2 separate regions of the Homo sapiens genome follow, and region 1 is linked to region 2. Evidence: promoter capture Hi-C in human tissues and cell types (Jung and others, 2019). All regions are on one chromosome and are shown on one strand. Each heading gives the region's core, a stretch centred on a gene start or on the middle of the fragment in contact. The rest is flanking DNA. Distances are from core to core; before and after follow the strand shown. Region 1 overlaps SECISBP2L (SECIS binding protein 2 like). Region 2 holds the start of COPS2 (COP9 signalosome subunit 2).

Evidence for each region. Contacts are between HindIII fragments. The study calls those that stand out against the background at their distance.
Region 1: a fragment that was not itself captured here is called in contact with the fragment with the promoter of COPS2 in region 2 in 1 of the 25 tissues and cell types used here (hippocampus).

Annotation. Positions count from the first base shown.
Region 1 is chr15:49,012,002-49,015,577 of GRCh38, reverse strand. SECISBP2L (SECIS binding protein 2 like) reads left to right here. Exons shown (of 18, transcript NM_001193489.2): 12 at 2,761-2,930. Among named protein-coding and RNA genes, the nearest start is that of SECISBP2L, 33 kb to the left of the region's middle. The HindIII fragment of the contact is 5,342 bases long and covers 1-3,576 here.
Region 2 is chr15:49,153,925-49,157,282 of GRCh38, reverse strand. COPS2 (COP9 signalosome subunit 2) reads left to right here and starts at 1,684. Exons shown (of 13, transcript NM_004236.4): 1 at 1,684-1,758. The coding sequence starts at 1,705. It also overlaps a transcript of GALK2 not described here and the pseudogene NDUFAF4P1. RefSeq lists enhancers at 732-1,650, 1,409-1,938. The HindIII fragment of the contact is 9,462 bases long and covers 1-3,358 here.

The DNA of each region.
Region 1 (3,576 bases), core at 983-3,482, 140 kb after region 2:
AAAGGTACCAATGTACAGCACCAGCACCAATGTTGAGAGGCAAAATTGAATTTTGTGTTTCTTCTGATCCTGTGTGAAGGGACTATTACTTATTAGACAGAAAGATAAATTACAGTGTATAATTTTAACCTGTGTGCAAAACGTTTAAACCTATCTAGTTACCAATCCACTATCAACCTCTGTTATTACAATAGTTATTTGTAATAACTATTATTACAAATAGTACTGAATGTATATAAAGCTTTAGAGTTGCATGTTGAGATGGGCAGAGTGGCAGTAATCTCTCACTTAAGAGTAAAAATAGGGAATAAAACTGAGAGTTAGCAGTGTTCTGGAGGCGGTATGCCCTAGTAGCTAAAAGCAGGGGCCCTGGAATCAAGTTGCCTTTGTTTGAATCCTGTTCTTCCATGTGTTTCATTGGCAAGTTACTTAACCTTCCTGTGCTTCAGTTTCCTCACATTAATATGAGAGTACCTACTTCAGGATTGTCTTGAGAATTAGATGAGATGATATATGTAAAGTGCTTATAGAGTATCTGGGTTATAATCACTCAATAAATGTTTAATATTATTATGGAGACGAGATTGTTAACCTGTGATACTTCAGATGGCTTATTGTTACAACTTCAATTAATTTAGCAACTGTTAATATATATGTTTATATGTGTACATATATACAGTATATATAATGTCTATATTATATATACAGTATATACTGCTAAATATATACATTTATATATTTATACATATACTGTTAATATACATAAACAAACATTTAGCAGTTGCTAAATGTTAATATGATATAATTACTATAAATTATATAACTATATATTGTTTTATATATAATTATATATCTTTTTAATATATATACACCCATATATACACATGTTCAAGAAAAGGATGAGACTGATCATGATGAAAAAGAATTATAGGGAAATGATGGATCTGGAAACAGGTCAGTGATGACTCCAGATTCTGTCTTGAATGACTGTGGTGGTGATAAGGGCTGCGATGTTACTACACAAGATAGGGATTATAGAAGAATTTTGTTGGGAAGAGCAGATGCTGCCTGTTGTATTTTAAATGCTAGCATGGGAGATTCTGGTGGTTCCTATTTAGCATATAGTTATGAATGTATAGTTTAGGTTACAAGTCAGTGAGTTTCAAATACAGATGATTGTTGAAGTTGTGGAAATCAGATTGTTGGGGGAAAGAAAAATTAGGAAAAAGATGTTCACAGACAAAGCCTTGTGGAATGCTCACATTTAAAGGATAAGAGGAAGAAGAACAAGAAACATAGATTTGAGAAAGAGTAAGAAAAATAAAGGAGTGTAATGTTACAGAAGGCAAGGATAGAATTTTGAGGAAAAGGATGTAGTCCTTGGTACCAAATGCTGAAGAAAATTAGAGTAGAGTGAAGAGTCAGAGAATTGTATTTGGCAATTGCAAGATTATGTGTGACCTTGACAGTACGTTTCAAGAGAATGGGTTGGGCAGAGGTCAAATTGTAATGATTTGAAAAGTGATAATGAGAGAAAAACTGTTTCGAAGTTTAATAGGGAAGGAAAGGGGAATGATGGCACCTTAGCTTGAAGGGAAGGGTTTAGTTGGTGTGCCTTTTTAAAAAACCCTTTCTTTTTTTTAGATAGAAGATTCTAGCATCTTATTAGGGGATCAAGAAAAAAGTCAAGGGTCAGGGAGGAACTCGAAAGATGCAAGGGTATAGGAATAGAGTTAGATCTTAGAGGAACTGAGATGGGATATTAAGAATAAAGACAGTTGGTGAGCCTTGGACAGGAGTAAGGATGTCTGCCACCTCCTTTCAGGTGGTTGGTAAGTTTATATTGGATAGCATCTTCTCAGGGAAGTGGCAGGAAAGCTCTGCTAGAGTGAGAGGATTGAGGTTGGGGATTTAGGTATAGTAAAGGATTGGAAGAAGCCAGTGGAAACTGAGGGTATCAACCAGACATAAAAGAATTACTGAGGCCGGGTGTAGTGGCTCACGCCTGTAATCCCAGCACTTTGGGAGGCCAGCGTGGGCGGATCACAAGGTCAAGAGATCGAGACCATCCTGGCCAACATGGTGAAACCCTGTCTCTACTAAAAATACCAAAATTAGCTGGGCGTGGTGGCACGTGCCTGTAATCCCAGCTACTCGGGAGGCTGAGGCAGGAGAATTGCTTGAACCCAGGAGGTGGAGGTTTCAGTGAGCCGAGATCGTGCCACTGCACTGCAGCTTGGGCGACAGAGTAGACTCCATCTCAAAATAAATAAATAAATAAATAAATAAAAATAATTACTGAGTGAGGCTGAGTGCAGCTGAGTGGGTAAAATCATCATTCTTTACTGACCAACTGAAATAAGGAGAGAAGTGATAGATAAGATATCTTACATAAGGACAAATAGCAGATTCAGTAGGAATAAGAAGGGGTGCAGCATTGTGAAGTTTCAAAGGTAGAATGGTTCTGACTGAAGACCAGTTGCAAGGAATTGCCATGTTTGAGGGTTGTACAGGAGAGTAGAACTAATTATTTACCCCTATAATGGACTTCTAAATTGGTTAATTGCATTGGCTTAGTCTCTAAAGGATAGGTAAAAGCTGTATCTGAGGGACACTGCCTAGCCATGTATAGTGCTCCTACTGTTATGATGTCGTTTTTTCCATGGGAGGAGGATGTTCTTGTTTTTGTAGTTATTGGAAATTTTGAAAGTATGTGGGATTGGCCCTAATGGTGAAACTAATGTTCCTCTTTGTTTTTAGTGGTTACTGCAGCTTCTTTTCACACTAAAGACTCTACTAATAGAAAACCTTTAACCAAAAGTCAGCCCTGTTTGACATCCTTTAATTCTGTGGACATTGCTTCTTCTAAAGCAAAAAAAGGAAAAGAGAAGGAAATTGCAAAACTAAAACGACCCACAGCACTTAAAAAGGTAAACCAAAATCTGGTGGGATATTTATTTTATAGGATGAATAAGGATTTTAATCTGTTTTGTAAAAGTAGGTTGTGGTGTCTTAGCCAACAGATTGTTGTGAGAAGTATTCATACACATGAATCTTGACGATAATGTGTTAATTTGAAGCTCAGGATATCATCAGTATCATGACTATCTTTCTGTGTAGAACGGGGCCCTGGAAAATGAATTATTTCTATAAGGTTAAAAAAAAGATAAATATGTAGTATCCCAAAACATTAAGACTCCAGGAATCAGAAGCCCTGGATTTCAGTATTAACTTCAGTGCTTGCTACACATATCATTTTAGGCAACCATTTTACTCTCATCTTTCTCATCTATAAATTGGGGAGCATATTTGATTTAACTCACTATTGTTAAAAGGGTCAAAATGAGATAATTCGTGTCCAAATAATTGAAAACTGTAGAATGTCAATCAAATGTAACTGTATGACCTGGGTTCCAAACTTTTTAATTTACCCTTTTTTTTTTTGGAAACTCTAGTTTGCCACCTAGGATTTAAAGCATCAGATATGGTTTGATAGCTGTATATTCTATAACATAATTGCTTTTCTTTATTTTGTATGCAGTACTTCCTTCAACTTACAGTGTCTGAAATTACATT
Region 2 (3,358 bases), core at 435-2,934:
TGTCAGTCTTAAGAGTCAGGAAAGCTTTTACTTTCACTATCACATATGAAGAATGAACTAAACACCTAAATTGGATAGGAAAACTTAAATGAGGGATTCAGGACACTTCCCAAGGGGTCATATGACCAATTTAAAAGTTGGTATGATGTGTCTAAAATAACAAATTAACTCTTTTACTTATAATAAAGGTACAGATGTGCTGATTAGTCATGCTAACATGTACATATGAAATATGCCTAAACCAAATTAAAAGAAAACAAAATACAGTCTATGGCAATCTTGAAAATTCAGGGAGCTCAATAAATATTAAGAGGATGCTCTCACAATGAGAGCATTAAACACTTGGTAATTAACATAATTTAATATGCAAAAATAAGAAAATATACAGGATGAGGGATGAGGAGTACACATAGGAAATTTTTGTGATTTTCTTCATTTTGATTGTATTGCTTTCTTGTCTTCAGGAGGGAAGATTTTGACTTCAAAAGTAACAAAATATTTAAGAAGGGAATTCACATCTTTCTGTTCTAAATGATATTCTTGCGCTATTTTCTCAGCAGTTCATGTTTCTGGATAAAGTTTATGATTATTGAAAAGTGTCAATGCTTCTACAGTGGAAATTTTGCCTTTGGGAATGCTCTTAATATTTATCATATCAAAGTGATGGCCTTTCGGCAATCTGAATTTCTTTGGCTCCTGACGTGTTTCAGCAGCTTTCAGCTGCACGGAAGACACAGGATCTTTGGAATCAACACACACATATTTTAGAAATGACAGCAGCTTGTCATCTTTACGAGCAATCTCTCCCTTAATTTCTGGATAGAGACTAATCTGCTCTGGCAGGAGGCTGCTGGTAGAGGGGTGCCTGGGAGCGAGAGAGGGCTTCATGTTGCGGATTTCCCTTTCCGCTCGGTTCTCTTGAAATTCCTGATCCCGCGAGTCACCGCAGCCCCCATCTCCTTACAACATGATGCCCTCAGGTTCACAGTAATGTATTTTTTAAAAACCAGTCGTTGTTACCTTAATTTGGTCCCAAGGGCTGTAAAGGTCAGTTTACAACTCGTTGAACAACTGAGTAAGATTTAAGGCAACTCAACTGATAGCTGCATACCTAATTTAGGATATCCATAGAATTGTTTTGTCAACTACAAATATAACAAGCATTAAGTGTAAACTGTGTTGCTGAAAAGTACTCCAAGTATCTTAGGAACACCCACCGCAATGTGTGGGCTAAATGCACACGTACAATGATAGCAGAAATAATACCTGTCATATAGGACGGGCATGTCAGCCTTTTCTCCGCGAAAGGCTTCTGGTCCTAAGCTGTCCCTTACTTTCACCGGAATGAGATGCGTCCAGAGTCCCAAGCAAGGGAGGAGACTGCTCCTTTACCCAGGAGGCTGGAAACTGCTCGATGCGAGCGCAGTTTCCGACGCCCTTCGGCTGAGACCTGCAGCACCGGACGATGTCCCAGTTGCCAGCTTTAGTTGCTAAGGCACCAACCACTTCGGAGGAAACGGGGGGTGGTGCAGTCTCTTTTGGAGTCGTAGCGAATCAGCTACAAGTCGAGATAATTAGTTCCGGCAGGAAACAGCTCCTCTAAGAGGGACTGGAAGGCGGAAAGAAGCTGAGAGTGACGCCTCTGAGCCGCGGAGGATTGTGGGAGGAGGTTGTCTCCAATTTCTCCTCCCCCTCCCGGCCAAGATGTCTGACATGGAGGATGATTTCATGTGCGATGATGAGGAGGACTACGACCTGGTGAGGCGCAGGGAATGGAACTCTGAGGGTGGTGATGTGTCTTGTTTTCGGGGTCCGGGCCGGGGCGCCCGCGGCCTCTCCCCGTAGAGCATGTGCCGTTTACAGCCTCTCTCAGTGCGGTGACAGGACTGGTTTACCTCCTCCCCGTTCCCGCACCGGGCCCGGGCCCTGCTTCTCCAGCATGGGGGAAGGGAGGGCAAAGGAGGCAGCGAAGGGGGCCCCGGGCCTTGCCCTCCGAGTCTGAGCGCCTCTTCGGTTTACACGGATGCCCCTGGTCCCAGGCGTTCGGTTCTCTGTCTTCTGCCTCCCCACCGCGCTAGCCGCCTCGGTGACCATGCTGCGGTGTAGGCCCTGGCTTTGCCCTTTCGGGCCCAGCGTTCCGGGCCCCCACTTCTTCACACTGGAACTGAGCGGGTGCGAAATGCTAGGAGAAGTCAGAAAACGGGGGTGTCCTTACTGCTCCCAGGCCTGACTGCGAAACGCAACTTGTGAGTCTCCTGGAGACATAGCTTAAATAGTCTTGCCAGGGCCAGTTTTGGTCCGAGGTAAGTGTGTAGGGGAGAGTTCAGAGCAAAGATAACTGAAAAAAAGGTAGTCGAACCACTTTTTCAGTTCTTTATAAAGAAAAGCTGGGGAGGAGGTTTTGCTTGTGGTGTTTTTGGAGGACGGGTGAAAGATAATTGAACCCATGGCTTTTCCCTTAGAAATTTCCCAGTATACAAAGTTTAAAACAGCAACAGCATAGAAATAAACGAATTTTTCTGACCGAATGGAGATTTTTAAAGATTCAAAGCTTCATTTATTAATGGATTTGCAAGTTTGAATAACGTTTGCTATTCAAAAACATCGTGTGGAAACTCAGAAAATTATCTTGATCCAGAATTAACGTCAATTTTGCTGTGTTTCTTTATTTTGGGGGTGTTTCATATGGTTCTTTTATGGTGATGCTGCATTATCATAAAGTTACGAAATAGATGTTTTGGGACGTCTGACTCATTTTAAGTGCCAGAGATTGTCAAAATATTAATACATTGTTTTGAATTAGTCTATAACTTTTTCGTATATATTTTCAGTTTTTTGCATTTTAAAATAAGGCACACTTTGCAAAAGGGAGAAAGGAAATTCTCGCTATTATTTGAAAGTCATAGTAGAGATTTTTATAATTTTTAAAGTTAAATGTAGTTTCGCTAATAGTTATGGTTTCTACCTTACATTTTAGTTTGTGCAAGCCAGTTGTAGGCAGTGACTTCAGTTCATTAAGAATATGTATCTGTCCATTTTTACTTATTACCTGTTTATTTATATTACAGGTGTTTTGTTATCAAAATGTTTCTTTTATATGTGCTTGTATTTTTTTAATTGATTCATAGTATTTTGTACATATTTATGGGGGGTTTCGTTACATGCACAGGATATGTAGTGATCAAGTCGGTATTTAGGATATCCATCACCTTGTGTTTTTATCATTTCTGTGTCTAGGGAATATTTAAAGTCATCTCTTCTAGATATTTTGAAATATAAAATACGTTTTAACCATAGTCACCCTGCTCCGCTGTCAAACATTAGAACTTACTCCTTCTATCTAACTGTTGGTTTGTAC